Regions from separate parts of the Homo sapiens genome. Here regions 2 and 3 are each linked to region 1. The links are contacts of gene promoters, found by promoter capture Hi-C in blood cells and fetal thymus (Javierre and others, 2016). All regions are on one chromosome and are shown on one strand. The core of a region is centred on a gene start or on the middle of the fragment in contact, and the rest is flanking DNA. Distances in the headings are between cores, read along the strand shown. Region 1 holds the start of JAZF1-AS1 (JAZF1 antisense RNA 1). Region 2 overlaps SNX10 (sorting nexin 10). Region 3 holds the start of HOXA9 (homeobox A9).

The links. Contacts are between HindIII fragments. The CHiCAGO score rates a contact against its expected background, and 5 or more counts as called.
Region 2: a fragment that was not itself captured here is called in contact with the fragment with the promoter of JAZF1-AS1 in region 1 in 3 of 17 cell types (non-activated CD4 T cells, activated CD4 T cells and total CD4 T cells); the score reaches 6.5 in non-activated CD4 T cells.
Region 3: a contact is called between a fragment that was not itself captured here and the fragment with the promoter of JAZF1-AS1 in region 1, in 4 of 17 cell types (activated CD4 T cells, non-activated CD4 T cells, naive CD4 T cells and 1 more). The highest score is 9.3, in activated CD4 T cells.

Annotation. Positions count from the first base shown.
Region 1 is chr7:28,178,171-28,183,327 of GRCh38, reverse strand. JAZF1-AS1 (JAZF1 antisense RNA 1) reads right to left here and starts at 2,871. Exons shown (of 4, transcript NR_034097.1): 1 at 2,789-2,871. It overlaps JAZF1 (JAZF zinc finger 1), which reads left to right and starts at 2,533. Exons shown (of 5, transcript NM_175061.4): 1 at 2,533-2,865. The coding sequence starts at 2,751. RefSeq lists a silencer at 3,339-3,458 and enhancers at 3,313-3,812, 3,813-4,314. The HindIII fragment of the contact is 6,606 bases long and covers 2,072-5,157 here.
Region 2 is chr7:26,371,951-26,377,107 of GRCh38, reverse strand. It overlaps SNX10 (sorting nexin 10), which reads right to left. Exons shown (of 7, transcript NM_013322.3): 6 at 5,075-5,157; 7 at 2,725-4,617. The coding sequence ends at 4,536. It overlaps SNX10-AS1 (SNX10 antisense RNA 1), which reads left to right. Exons shown (of 2, transcript NR_136272.1): 2 at 4,540-5,089. Among named protein-coding and RNA genes, the nearest start is that of LINC02981, 24 kb to the left of the region's middle. RefSeq lists a silencer at 219-428. The HindIII fragment of the contact is 715 bases long and covers 1,789-2,503 here.
Region 3 is chr7:27,161,826-27,166,982 of GRCh38, reverse strand. It overlaps HOXA10-HOXA9 (HOXA10-HOXA9 readthrough), which reads left to right. Exons shown (of 3, transcript NM_001433944.1): 2 at 2,016-2,105; 3 at 3,142-4,545. The coding sequence ends at 3,380. It overlaps HOXA9 (homeobox A9), which reads left to right and starts at 1,446. Exons shown (of 2, transcript NM_152739.4): 1 at 1,446-2,105; 2 at 3,142-4,545. The coding sequence starts at 1,526. The coding sequence ends at 3,380. RefSeq lists enhancers at 1-307, 1,156-2,032, 2,033-2,910, 4,422-4,921. The HindIII fragment of the contact is 621 bases long and covers 3,597-4,217 here.

The DNA.
Region 1 (5,157 bases), core at 1,622-4,121:
TATTTTTGTAGCTTAGATGTTGACTTTATCTAAAGGGATATCCTGGAAACAAACATTTTAAAAATATAAGTACAGAAAGGTAAGCATGCTATTAGCAATTTTTAAAAAACTTTGCCTGTGGTTACTATCTATATATAATTTGTCCTTCTATTGTCTATCAATGCCTTCTAAATGCACCATGAGTACAGAGAAAAAAACTGTCTGTGTGCACCTGGGAGAACTTGCTTGATGCCCCGGCCTCAGTTTACCACATCTCCAAAACCAGTGGTTCTGACAGCCAGAGTATCTTCCAGGTCTAAGAGATCACAATCATGTATCTTATATAAAGACCGGAAATGCCTAGAGTGTACAGATTTTTAAAAAGTAGTATGAGCAGAACATCACATAAACAAAGCTTCAGTCACATATGAAGAAGTAGTAGGGTGGATTATTTTCAGGCAAAATGAACTGATTCCTTACAAAACAGTAATAATTATCCAAGGTAGAGAAAATAATTTTGTCTTAAAAACCAATATCTTGATTTACTTTGGAAGTTATTTTAGCTCACTTCATTTTTTAAAAAATCTATTTTTTTCAATTTGGTCTAGCAAGGTTTTATTTTAGGAATAGTGAAACTGACAGGAGGTAGTAGAAAGCCATGCATTAGTGAAACCCAGGCCCCTTACTTCCTTCATCTTTCACCTGCACATTTCTGGCACTTCCCATCTCGGAACTCTCTTGCCTGAACCACCTCTCCACACTCTTGGGAGTTAATAACTCCACGTAGACAATTTTTCCTCTGGAGGACAGAACTGCTACTTCTTCAAAGCTTTTGGGGCTCCCAGATGCTGCATAGTGGGGGTGCCTAACATTCATCTCTAAGGGTGGCTGTTTTGGCATCATTTTTGGCTGAAGTTTTGTATTGCATTTCCATGTCATTTGGTGTGGTGTGTGCCTGCCAGATATTCTGCCTGCTCTCAGCTGAAGGCCTTCCCAGATTGGGCAGCTGAATGTACTGCACAGCTGCCAAAATTCTAATTCAAGATCTAGAATTCTAACTCCTGCTCTTTAGACCCTTGTCTGGCCTTGGCCTCAGTCCCCTGCCAACTCGGTCCCTGGCTCATTATCAGGCCCACCAGGGCCCTGCCCCCACCCTCATTGGGCCCATGAAACCATTCTTGGCACCAAACTGAACTTCAAGACACAGCTGCCCCAGCCCCACCCAAGCCGAATCTCATCTCAGCAAGTTTGTCACCTTGTGAGCTGCAAGACAGAAGAGATGAGAAGAGAAAATGCCACCGGTGATGGTCAGATCATAAAACTTCCTGTAGCAACAGACATATTACATGTGCCTTTACTCTAAGCACTTACATGAAAAGCAAACAATCCCATTATTAGAAATAACACTAGACAGAGATGCATAGAGTTTATGGAGGGAGGAATACTATTTCTCCATGCATCTGCACCAGAGGGTAAGTGAAATTTGCCCTAAGGAAAAATGCTAAATTCAGTATGCATATATTAATATTAATAAAAAAAATGTACTGTTGGGTCATAAACTGCTGATAATGTGTAATATTTCTTAGACACCTGGAAAAGTGCTACTGGAAAATACACACTTTACAGAAGAAATATGACTGCAACTGGAGGAGGGGGTGGGGACAAGAAAGTAATTGATTCTCAGCAAAATGCTGGTTTTCAGGGAAGCTACTAAATTCACCTTAAGTGGTTACCTGGTCAACATTATGCTTTAAATGCTCACAGGATGAAATCGCTTCCTTTTTAAATGAAGAGTCACTATGTCCCTTGCCGTTGTTTCCGCTCCTTCTAGCCTTAACCAATGCACTGTCCTTTCTGCAGTGGCTGAAACGAGGATGGGTTAATTACCAGACCTGAGATGGTGGAGTGGGTGCAGTAGGGTGCTGTAATTTCGGGTGATGAAATTATTTTAGTTTTTGTTTTCCTAGAAGGAGCAGGGAGTATAAAAAACGTGGCACATATGTAAAACACAGGCAAATGCACTTGACAACCAAGCACTCTATTTTGAAATTTAAATAAAGCTAAGATTTTTTTCTGGCCTAGAGGGAAAGCTTCATTAAAATCAATTAGTTAGTACAAACCTCCGGAGAATGTGTACTTTTTCTAAAGAAGGTTTAAAGAAGAAGGTGCACACAATTACCTTTCCTGGGTCCCCTGTGAATGTGTCACACCTAGACAGGTGGCTGAGTACAAAAAAATGTCCCTGAGAGGGACCAGGGTAACTCCCTGAGTTCTCCTCGCAGGGAGGTAGGTGTAATTAATCGATGTGGGTGTATTAAGAACGTCATATACATAACCAAGGAGGCTCCAAACAGATGGCACGGATGGCAAGCCGTAAAGGGCAGGCCTAGCGAGATAAAGTTGGTGGCAGGGCTCGCAGGTGAGGCCTGGGTCCGCGCGCTGAGGTTGGGGCCGCACAGCTGTAGCCGCGCGCCCTGGTCCCTCCTCCCAGCTGCGGCGGCCTTCCCCCCCCGCCCCCGCCCCCGCCCTCCCCCCGCCGCTCCCGACGCCGCCGCCGCAGCCGCCGCCTCCCCTCTGCCTCCCGGTGGCTCCTCGCTCTCCTTCCATCTCTCTCGCCCCCTCTCCCTCCGTCCCGTCCTCGCCGCTCCCCTCACCCCGCCTCTCTCCCCCTCCCCCAGCCCCTCCTCTCCTCACCCCACCCGGCCTCCCTCCCTCCCTCGCCCGCCCGGCGCTCGCAGAGCCGACACCAGGGGGGCTCTCGATGTAGCACCATGACAGGCATCGCCGCCGCCTCCTTCTTCTCCAATACCTGCCGATTCGGGGGCTGCGGACTCCACTTCCCCACCCTGGCCGACCTCATCGAGCACATCGAGGACAACCACATCGGTAAATGGCCCGGGGGTGGGCGGGGGTGCCAGGCGCGCGGAAACTCCTGCCCGGGCGGGGAGCCCCGGAATGGCCAGGGGTGGCCGGCGGGGAGGGAGGCGGCAGGGCGGGGAGGGCGCGTGCGAGCCCCGAGGTGGGGGTGGCGGGATGCGGGGGCGCGAGGTGCCGGGGGGCGGGGAGCGGGCTCGGGTGGGGGAGGGGGCGGGCGCCCCGAGGTGCCGCGGGCGGGCGGGCGGGCGGCTGGGGGACTCAGGGGCGTGCACGCGGGCTGCGAAGTGGTGGGAGCGGGGAGCGCCGCGGCGGGGCGGCGGGGTTGCGGCGGCGGGGCCGAGTGCCGGCGCGCGGGGCGCGGGGCGGAGGGCGCGGCGGGCGGCGGGAGCTGGGCGCTGGGCAGGGTCGCGGAGTTAGTTGGCCCGGGTGGTCGGAGTAGCCCGAGGCGCTGAGGGCAGCGGGGGGCGGGCGCTGCACGCCGCCGGGCGCTTCCGCCCCGGCTCGAGCTGTCAGGGCTCGGCGGCGGCTGCAGCCGCGGGGAGGTGGAGCGGGGGGGCGGGGGTGGCTCCACCGCGGCAGCCATTCCGCTTCCTCCTCCCGCCGCCGCCGCCGCCACTGCGTCCTGTCAGCGCCGGTTGCTAGGTGTGGTGCGTCGGGAGGGGGCCGGGGCCGGCGGCCGCGGGCGGGGGCCGGGGAGCTTGCCCTCTCCCTGGGAGGCGGCCGAGGGGCCCGGGCGGGGCCGGGGACGCGGGCCCGGGGGCTCTGGGTGCCCTCCCCTGCCCCGGCCTGGCGCGGACGCCCGGGCGCTGCGGGCTGAGGTCTTGGGTGCGCCCGCGGGCCGCGCCCAGCGCCCCGGGGTCGACGCGCCCTGGAGGCCCCTGCGGCGGCGCCCGCTGGAGAGACACCCCCAGGGCCCATGGCCGGGCATTTAAATGCACCCCGGCTCTGCGATTTGCCTTTCTAATGGTGCTAGGCCCGAGGTGCGCTGGCTGCGCCCTGGGATCGGCGGCGGCCTGCGCAGCGCCCCGGGCCCGGGAGACGCCGGGGAGGGGGCGCCCCGCAGGGTGGCTGCTTTCCCTTCACGCCTGGACCCCTGGACCTTTCAACAAGTCCTCTGATTTGCAGAAGTCATTGCACACATTTTCACACTTCTATTCGGAACCCCTGCTAAGGGAGGTGGGCCGGGTGCATCTGGCTTAGGCGGTCCAACCACCTGCGGAAGGTGTGACCGACGCCAGCGAGTTGTCCTGCGTGGGCTAGAAGGTGAAGGGTCCGAGCGATGTCCCAATGGGGCTGTCTAATCCAGAGAACCTGTAAATTGCCCCCAGGAAGTCCAAATGAATGCCATGGATTCAGCCATGTGGATGCAGCTCACGTTTCTACAAAGTTGAGAGAATAAATCACGACTGCTGTGTATTTATGCAGGAATAAAATGAGGCAGAACCCTATGCTCCTTTGCTTAGTATAGTGCTGTCTCTGCACACAGTGGCTGCTTAATAAGTGTTGAATGCCTGTTTAGAATGTGATTTGATGGGCCATCCGGAATAGGAGATAATCATGGGAAACGTCTACAAAATGTCTTTCAGAGGAAAATGCTGTTGAGTAATTGTCCAGGTTTTGAAACTTTTCAAGTTTTCAGGCGTCCTTGTAATAGCTTCTTCCATTTCCTCTGCTAAAGGTATGACAGAAGAGCTGGGCAAGTTTTGGTAGTCTTAAAAGCAGTTTAATGGAGCAACCAATTTGCTGATTCATATCATGATTGAATAGTCATAACTGAAAGTGCTTGAAAGTATTAAATCAGATTTTTCATGATGGCTAGTTTAAAATAAAGCGAAAACACCGGTACTGTGAAGTTCTGGTAGAAATGTTACTAGTTCAAGTTCTTCCCCTTACTCCCAATAATAAGTAAAAAATAAATATAGATAATGCTATACATTAATATGTATGATATAAGTAATATAAATAAATAATTTCTCTTGACTTACAGAAGGCTGTCATTGCATATCCCATCCATTCTCGCTAACAGTTATTTCAGAATAAACTATAATTTATATAAGCTGAGTAATAATTTTACCCCATTGCCTACCTACTTAGACAAGCTGGTTAAAAGACAGTATAAATTATATTTATTAAAATGTGTTAAAGACAGTTATCCTTCTTGAGGATTTAGTTTGAGATGGTTTAAAACTTGGTGAATCATGAGGTTTTTTTTTTAAGTGTAGAAATTGTCTTAATATTTTGCACACATTTTTAAAGAAGGTTAAGAGTTTGATACGTTTTCTAAAACTCAGCTTTGAAGTA
Region 2 (5,157 bases), core at 897-3,396, 1.8 Mb after region 1:
GGCCTCAGCCTAAAGCGGGTGGAAAACTTGTATCACCCCCCTACACACACACACACACACACACACACACACACACACACACACACACAGCCCAGTCCTACCACCAGGCGCGACCGTCCCCTCCCTCTCCAGACGGAAGGGGCCAGGTTAACGCAGCCGCGCGCCCGCCGGGCAGGTTAGGTTCTCGGGGGCCTAGAAGGGAAAGGGGTTAACTAATGTGTGCGATGCGTGTGCAGATGACAAAATTTAGGGCACGTAGAGTTTGCCCGGCCCCACCGCGTCCGCTCGCGGGGACCCTCGGGGGCCGGGCCCCATGGGGCCGGGGCAGCACGGTGTAGCCCCTCCTCCGGCCGGGCGCGAGCGTCTGCAGAACAAAGCCTGGAGTCCAGCCCCGGCCCCGGCGCGGCCGCCCCTCAACCAACCCCCAGGCGGCAAGGCCCTCTCCACGCGCGCTCTCCAGCCTGGCGGGGCCCTGGAAGCCGGGACACGCGGAGGCCGGGAGGGTCATCGGCGTTTAAGGCAGCCTCCCACACCAAGTGCACCGCCCGGATCCCCTCTGCACGAGGGCTTTCTGCTTATTGCTCTTTTCCCCAGCAGCCAGAATCGTCACCGTAGCGCGGGAAGGGGCCTCGCGGGCCGTCTGCAGCAGGTGCGGCCGGGAGCCGCAGGCCCGCGCGGTAAATCGCTGTCTCTTTGCGGTCGTTGTTCCCATTCACCGCCCGCCGCCCCCCGCCCCACCACGGTTCTTTTTTTTCTTTCCGCCGCGCAGTTGCCATGGGTTACCAGGGCGGTTGCCATGGGTTACCGGACCGAGGCCGGCTGGCTCGCTACCTGCAGCCCAGTCGCCGCCGCCAGCGGAGCGGCCCGGGCGGGACGCGGCGGGAGCGCGCGTGTGCGGGACGCAGCGCGGGGGATGCGCGCGGGCCGCGGAGGCGCCGCAACCAACAGGCGGCCGAGGGTGCAGCCGCGGGAGCGCCACCGCCAGTGGGGTGGGGGGCAAAGCTATAAAGAAGGCCCAGAGGTAAGAAACTAGCAAAAACACAACCACAAGTTATGCCCGTGCTGTGCCTCTAGCAGCAAAGACAAGCGGTGTGGGGTTGGATGAATCTACACTTCTCGTCGGGGGAGAAAGGGTATTTTCCTCTTTAGCATAAGCCATTTACATAGTGTCTTTAGACCAGAGTTTAAATTCAGCAGGAAATTGTAGCTTAATGGTTTTTTTTCTCTTTTCCTCTATATCTTTTGAAAAGAAGTCTTTGGAATTTTGGAGAAAGAGAAAGGGTCATTAACTACCAGAGTTTGCGCAGCTAAAATAAATTAGTGTCCAATGCACTGCTCATGATCTAGAAAAGTTTGCAGTAGGAGTGAAGCGCAATTGTGTCTGCTAAAAAGGGACAATGGTGACTCGTTTGTAAGATGCATATGGCAAAGAATAGAACCAAAGTCCTTTGTATATATAGCAAATGTTAAAGAAATTGTTGCTTATTTACATCCTTCTGAAATTTTTGAACTCCACTCTATTAAAATTATTAATTTCTTATGACCTTTATTTGCAAAGAAAATTCTATGCTTTGAATGTCAAATTGCAGTAACTAATTTCAGACAGTATTTTGTATTTGAAAATGTGTTTATATATAATAAACTAAGAAAAGGTCTATATTCCAAACAAAAACACAAAATTGTACTGAAATTGTTTCCTTCATTGAAAAGATGTTGCCTTGTATTCACAGGATACCAGCTAAGTAATTTAAATATTAAGAGGAAGACTATTTAGAAACAGAATAAGCTTTGTTATTTTCGTTTAAAATGTTAAGGGGCCTCTAATGAAAAGGGGTTGTCTTTTATAGCTCAAATACTGAAAACCTTATTGGTATCACAGTAGCTCAATAATAATGAATCCTTAAGGCATCCAACAAATACAAACCAAATTCAAAACAACGTCCAGTTTACTGTTGGATATAACGGTTATTGTGGCCAGGCTAAATGAAGTTGTTTAACTTCTTAATTGTCATAAAAGAAACTTTGTTCTTTTACTTTATACTGCATATCACTTGTTTGTATTTAATTATTCAATAAAATGTGGACTAGGTTTGAAAAACTGGCAAGATACTTCATATCTTAAGGAATAGTATCTGCTTAAAAATAAATACTTGTTTGTCCCTAGTAATTTTTAAAACTTGAAATTTTAACTAGAATTAAGTAACTTTCTTCTAAGTGAGACTTTATAAGAAGCCGAAGTAACAGGTTGTTGACGTTCAGTGCTGTTGACACCTTTGGGTTATATATAAATCTAGTTCTACAACAAAACACGTAAGTTGGCTTTATAGGTGAATAGTTTACCCTTTAAGAATCAGCCAGGGAAAATGCAGTTTTGCTGTATTGTAATCATAAAGAATCCAGGATTAGAATTCTTTACATTTAAGTCACATTAAAAATAGTGTTAAATAAACATCTATTCAAGTTAGCTACATCAGTAATTATTTTCTTTTTCCTAAAGAAAGCTTTATAAAAAATATGCCAGAGAAAAATAAGAGACAAAGCAAGAAAACCACTGGGAACTGAAGTTCATCTAAATATCTCAGCTGCAAGAAATCAGTTTTAAGAAGCCAGTGTGTGGACATTGAAACAACTAAACCAAGGCTAAAAGCCTCAAATATGTACAACTATAGCTAATATTAAACCATGTTTTACCAAATTTCCTCATAAAAAATAAAAAACACTGAGTTTGGGTCTAAGGCAGAATATATTCTCTTGTATAAAATAAGTGATCCGGCAAAGTTGATTTTTTTTCACGTTTAATGTAAAAATGATCTCGTGACATTTACATACTAAGTATTAGGCATTACATAATATTAATTTTGATGGCTATGTTACATCATCTAAAAATAATATGACAATTGGTGGCATAGTATGTGTTTTTCAAAACTGCTGTAAAACAGAAATAGTGTGAACTCAAATACATATTGCTGAAGGGATGAGGATCGCTCTTAAATGCCTGGATGGCATGAACTTTACATATTAGCATGGTAAGAAATTACTAAATCTTTTCTTTTCCTGTATTAAAATAATGAGGATCTAAGACACATTAAATCAAAATATTTACAAAAATTTAATAATGTTTTAGACCAAAGAAAAAAAGGACAAATTAAAGAAATCATTCTTATTCTAAATTTAATTTTTTTAATGTTAGTTCTCAGTTTTCTTAGCTTTTTTTTCTGTTGGTTCTTTGAAACAAGCATTGTAAAGACTTTTTAATAATACAATAGCTTTTAAACTCTTAGTGAAAATGAAAAGGTTGCTTTTTGTAGTAGCCTCTGCCACTCTTCAATTAGGCTGGGTAACAAAGCAACAAGTTATCCTAGTTATCTGAAAATATCTTCCTGTTAGTTTCACAGAAATATTTTGTACCATTCAACATGGATGAAACTTGGGTAATTATCTCAAGAAAATGTTGCCTCATCTGAAATCTGAACTTCAAAATAGTTTATCTAAGATATCTTTGGGACACTAAAAAAAAAGACATTTTATGAAAATTATACCAATCTTCAAGTAGATGCTTTAAAAGGGGCTTTTTAAAAATGAATAATTATTTCTGAAATTAGCAAGTCGACATCCTTTTCTAAATTATGGGAATATTTATTGGTAAAATTAAATTTATTAATCTTTATAAAATCCTTCCTCTGATTTAAGTAATAAGTAACCACCACTGATACTGAAAGTTATCTAGTGATAAGAAATTGCACATTTAGTCAAAAAATAAATCATTAACCTGATTATACAATGATAATGAAAACAAATTATTTGTCTCCAGAAACCATTTGTTGAAGCTGATTTTGGATAATGAAAATGTATTTCTGAATCTATATATTACAGTTATAAGTAATATTACTAGCACTATCTATGTTTTTTCTAAGATGTAAACATTATTTTAATATGTCTCTATTCATAAGATACATTTCCATCTAAGCGTGAAACAGAATACTGGAAAGGTTAAATACTCTTAAAATATTTCAGTCTAACACCCAAAAGCATAGTGTTTTGCCAGTGCAGGGGAGGTATCCACAAAATATCAGGCACATATCTGAGAGAGGCAGTCTGGTCTACACTGTTACTCTTCATAGGGTTTAACAACATATACACCGTGTTTATGGTAACACTGCCCCACTGATACAAGAAGGAATGCTCTATCTTGATTTTAAATGCTACTTAGTTACCTATCTTTTTAAATTCAATAAAACCAACTCGGTTTTTTAAAACATGTAAGTCATTTCATTGGAGGGCAAGATCTTGTTTACCAATAATGTCTGCCTGTAAAGGATAGTATTGTATTCACAGGATTTTTAGCTTTACACAGAAGCTTACCTAAAATAAGACAACATAAAAATACCACTAATAAACAACCCAACATCTTTAAGAATTTAAATACCTAACATCATGACAGTGAGCTTTAGGTAAGAATGTATTATTATGAAGCTTTCTTCTCTATGACTGGACATAATTTGCTATTCCTAAGATAGTAACATTAGAATTATTTTTCAGGATTCCTGCGGAGCTGTATTTACTTTACATCCATGTGAACTGCTGTCATCACTACTGTGTCCAAGCCCAGAGGATGAACTGGAAAAGAAGAGAGGGGGAAAATAATAAAAAGAGGAAATTGGTTTTCACAACACACTCAAAGCCTGAGTAACAGAGGAGAACTTTAATTATCTCCAGTCACAAAGAGAGACAGGAAATTTGGACTTTTAATTAGCCATTTGGAGTGCAGTTGGGTATTTTTTTAGCTAGATAATTTAAACGCGAATAATTCAAGTCTGACTAAATGAAAGTCACATAATCAGAATGCAAATAATTGAATTTCTACTGCATTCATTAATTCAGTGTGGAGGTGTGTGTGAAGACTACTATGATGAGCTGTCACAGCTCAATAAAATCTCAGTCAATTAATTTTTTCATTATCTTAGTATTATATCAACAAAAAAGTGAAGTGTGTATATATATCTATACACGTGCATATGTGCATACTATGTATTATATAAATACATATACATTAAATCAAAATGCAAGGAAATACCTTTCTGAATCATAATCTATATCATTTTCTTTTTTTCCTTCTTCATCTTCTTCAGGGAAACGTCTATTCATTAAGGCAAACTT
Region 3 (5,157 bases), core at 2,658-5,157, 1.0 Mb after region 1:
AACGGGTGAGAAATAAACTTCCCCAACGTGGCCAGGCCCAGGAATGGGACTGGAGTCGATGCCCTTTTACCCCTCCCCGTTCTAATTTCCAGCCCTGGCCTTGAGCTGTGGCTGCCTCTCTTTGGGCCTTGTACCTCTCCGCCGAGTCTCCGGGCCCCGTAGGTAACCAAGGCGAGGCCCGGAGTAGCAGCTGGAAAGGGAGGAAGGAGCCCTGAAAGGCTCACGCGGCCCCGGGACAGGCCACATCGGTGCGGGCCTCCCAGGTTCCGGAGCTGCGGGGTCTCTTAGGCGAGGCTGCCTTTTCCCAAACCGAACTTGCCTTCCATTCATGCCACTTGTAGTTTTTTCCCCAGCTGGGATTCACGGAGCGCAACCAGGCTTGCAGCGCTCATGGTTAGAGCCTCTGAGGCTGGAGCACAGGGCTGGGTCGCCAGCCGCCTGCGCCTGGGAATCCTGATTGCCAGCTGATGAGAAAGGCGGGCTGGGCGCGCGTGTGCGTGGGGTCGAGGGCCGGGGACCGAGCGCGCCGCACAACCAACCAGGCCCTCAAAACCTTCGCCCTGGTGGCGGCTGGCCGCTCCCTCCTGGCCAGCTCCTCCGTGGGGTCCTCGTAGCAAAGGCGAATTTAAGGGTTGCCCGGGCGCCCCTCGCTCCAGGCGGGTAGCTGTGGGGACCTACACCCGCGGTACTCCCTGAGCGGCCGGTCCCTGCCTGGAGTGCCCTGGTAGGGCCGGCGGCGGCTCCGTTTGGGACGGATCCTGCGTTGAATTTGACTTTTCGAGGGCGGCCGCGGGTAAACTCGCCTCTCCCGGGGACCGCAGGGATTATTTACAGGGAGCTCGCCAACCAAACACAACAGTCTAACCTTTCCAAGTCCTCGTAAATTTTTACAGCTGGGAGCCACGGCGAGGCAAACGAATCTGTTGGTCGTTTCCGACTTCCCGCCAGCCTGTGTGGCTTCTGAAACAATAACTCCTTATGAAATATCATAAATATAGATTTAAATACAGTAGAGCGACAATGCGATTTGGCTGCTTTTTTATGGCTTCAATTATTGTCTAATTTTATGTGAGGGGCTCCGCTGGCCGCACTCGCACGCGGGACCCGCGCCTTCTTGATGGCGTGATTAATTGTGATATAAAATAGTCCGCTTAAGAAGTGTGTGTATGGGGGGGGAGACGGGAGAGTACAGAGACAAGGCTAGATTTGATCTTTTAATCGTCGTTGGCCACAATTAAAACAAACCCCATCGTAGAGCGGCACGATCCCTTTACATAAAAACATATGGCTTTTGCTATAAAAATTATGACTGCAAAACATCGGACCATTAATAGCGTGCGGAGTGATTTACGCGTTATTGTTCTGCTGGACGGGCACGTGACGCGCACGGCCAATGGGGGCGCGGGCGCCGGCAACTTATTAGGTGACTGTACTTCCCCCCCGGTGCCACCAAGTTGTTACATGAAATCTGCAGTTTCATAATTTCCGTGGGTCGGGCCGGGCGGGCCAGGCGCTGGGCACGGTGATGGCCACCACTGGGGCCCTGGGCAACTACTACGTGGACTCGTTCCTGCTGGGCGCCGACGCCGCGGATGAGCTGAGCGTTGGCCGCTATGCGCCGGGGACCCTGGGCCAGCCTCCCCGGCAGGCGGCGACGCTGGCCGAGCACCCCGACTTCAGCCCGTGCAGCTTCCAGTCCAAGGCGACGGTGTTTGGCGCCTCGTGGAACCCAGTGCACGCGGCGGGCGCCAACGCTGTACCCGCTGCGGTGTACCACCACCATCACCACCACCCCTACGTGCACCCCCAGGCGCCCGTGGCGGCGGCGGCGCCGGACGGCAGGTACATGCGCTCCTGGCTGGAGCCCACGCCCGGTGCGCTCTCCTTCGCGGGCTTGCCCTCCAGCCGGCCTTATGGCATTAAACCTGAACCGCTGTCGGCCAGAAGGGGTGACTGTCCCACGCTTGACACTCACACTTTGTCCCTGACTGACTATGCTTGTGGTTCTCCTCCAGTTGATAGAGAAAAACAACCCAGCGAAGGCGCCTTCTCTGAAAACAATGCTGAGAATGAGAGCGGCGGAGACAAGCCCCCCATCGATCCCAGTAAGTGTCTCCTCCCTTCAAATCCGCCGCCGCCTCCACGCCGGCCTCCCGGATCTGCTGGCCCGCCAGGTTTCTCTCGAGCCTGCCTTCGTCCTCGCTGGAAGCCTCTCGAGTTGGGGCCAGGAGCCAGAAGTTGGTGTTTGGGACGCCTCAGATAGGGCCCCAAGTCTGGAGAGCAGTGAAGAGCGGCCCGCAGGGCTACGGGAGAGGAGGCGGCTGCTGCAGCGAGAGGGGGCGGGGCGGGCACTTCGGGACGAGCCAAGACTGGCCGCCCCTCTCCTTGGCTGCCCAGGCCCAGGACCGAGATACTTTGGGCCGTTCTTCGAAAGCAGTGCAGCCCAGAGAGCCTTTTGTACAACTAGATTGTCCGTGAGCGGCGGCAGCCAGGGCAGCCGGAGCTGGGACGCTGGGGGAGACGGCCGATTCCTTCCACTTCTTGCCTTCGGCCAGTGGCGGCGTAAATCCTGCCAAGATGAGGCTGCGGGCGACCCGGGCCACAAGGGTCCCCATGACAGATTATTCAAATAAGCCACAGACGTGATCAGCGGCCTTAGGGCGCCCTGACGGCTTGCCCAGCTCCGAAGGCCTTCCAGGAAGGTTAAATAAGGAGTGGGGGGCGTAGAGGGACAGGTTGGGAAAGAAAGACGAAGTCAGTGAACGGGACAGAGGAATCCTAATCTTGCTACAGAACACAAGGCAGCATGCTTTCCCTCTGCGTGGCAAGGAGACCTGTTTCCAAATTTCATTCTATACAGCGTTTTGAGAGTGGGAGGAAGGAGAAGGGGGACAAGAGGACAGAGTAGGAGAAAGGAAGGTCTCGGAGGGGAGGGCGAGCCAAAGTTTTACTGCGTGCAATTTTAAGTGACTGTCTGTGCGTCTGTCTGCCAGGGTTCCATTGTGTCCGAGGCCTGACTGCCTTTCCTAACCAGTTCAGCAGAGTTCTGCACTTCGGCCAGAGACCCCATGCAGGAGGCTCATTTGCCCCAGCGGGATGTGCGTCTTCTGCTCCTAAACCCAGTGTTTCTCTTCCCCGCAGATAACCCAGCAGCCAACTGGCTTCATGCGCGCTCCACTCGGAAAAAGCGGTGCCCCTATACAAAACACCAGACCCTGGAACTGGAGAAAGAGTTTCTGTTCAACATGTACCTCACCAGGGACCGCAGGTACGAGGTGGCTCGACTGCTCAACCTCACCGAGAGGCAGGTCAAGATCTGGTTCCAGAACCGCAGGATGAAAATGAAGAAAATCAACAAAGACCGAGCAAAAGACGAGTGATGCCATTTGGGCTTATTTAGAAAAAAGGGTAAGCTAGAGAGAAAAAGAAAGAACTGTCCGTCCCCCTTCCGCCTTCTCCCTTCTCTCACCCCCACCCTAGCCTCCACCATCCCCGCACAAAGCGGCTCTAAACCTCAGGCCACATCTTTTCCAAGGCAAACCCTGTTCAGGCTGGCTCGTAGGCCTGCCGCTTTGATGGAGGAGGTATTGTAAGCTTTCCATTTTCTATAAGAAAAAGGAAAAGTTGAGGGGGGGGCATTAGTGCTGATAGCTGTGTGTGTTAGCTTGTATATATATTTTTAAAAATCTACCTGTTCCTGACTTAAAACAAAAGGAAAGAAACTACCTTTTTATAATGCACAACTGTTGATGGTAGGCTGTATAGTTTTTAGTCTGTGTAGTTAATTTAATTTGCAGTTTGTGCGGCAGATTGCTCTGCCAAGATACTTGAACACTGTGTTTTATTGTGGTAATTATGTTTTGTGATTCAAACTTCTGTGTACTGGGTGATGCACCCATTGTGATTGTGGAAGATAGAATTCAATTTGAACTCAGGTTGTTTATGAGGGGAAAAAAACAGTTGCATAGAGTATAGCTCTGTAGTGGAATATGTCTTCTGTATAACTAGGCTGTTAACCTATGATTGTAAAGTAGCTGTAAGAATTTCCCAGTGAAATAAAAAAAAATTTTAAGTGTTCTCGGGGATGCATAGATTCATCATTTTCTCCACCTTAAAAATGCGGGCATTTAAGTCTGTCCATTATCTATATAGTCCTGTCTTGTCTATTGTATATATAATCTATATGATTAAAGAAAATATGCATAATCAGACAAGCTTGAATATTGTTTTTGCACCAGACGAACAGTGAGGAAATTCGGAGCTATACATATGTGCAGAAGGTTACTACCTAGGGTTTATGCTTAATTTTAATTGGAGGAAATGAATGCTGATTGTAACGGAGTTAATTTTATTGATAATAAATTATACACTATGAAACCGCCATTGGGCTACTGTAGATTTGTATCCTTGATGAATCTGGGGTTTCCATCAGACTGAACTTACACTGTATATTTTGCAATAGTTACCTCAAGGCCTACTGACCAAATTGTTGTGTTGAGATGATATTTAACTTTTTGCCAAATAAAATATATTGATTCTTTTCTATTTTTTGCGGGTCTGCTCTTTGCACCTTCTTCTCTGGGTCAGGGGAGCCTATGTAGAGTCTCTGGGTAGGGGCGGGTTGGGGTGGTGAGAAAGAGCCCCAATTTTGCCTCTGGCTGGCTTTCAGGAGCGGGACCTGCCACAACCAGTCCGCCGAGCTAAGCTCTCCCAAACAGGCCAGCTGCCTGGCGGCGAGAAAAAGCTGGGAAACCCGGCGGAGGAGCCAGGCTCCCGGCCTTGTGTCTATGTGCGGGACGGCGGAGAAGCCCCTGAGGAGCTGGTCTGGTCTGGCCAGTAGCAGTGGAAAGACCACTCTCACCTTGGTGCCCCCGAGAAAATTCCCAAACCTGGGCCTTCGTTAGCTTGGTGAGGAAAAGGGGGAGAGGGTGACAGGATAGAGAGCTGGGAGCCGCCTTCTAAGCAGGCTCTGAAGAGGGAAATAGGAGCCCCACCGGCCCAACGTGGCCATGCAGGCAAACATTTTGGGGGCTTGCAAAGGAACAAAGCCCTGCATCCTCGCACCGCCCGCCACCCCCGCGGAGTCCTGCCAGCCTGGCCCAAGAGAATCTGGGTCCTGCACTGCAAGCACCTCTCGAGCACAAGGCCTAACAGAGG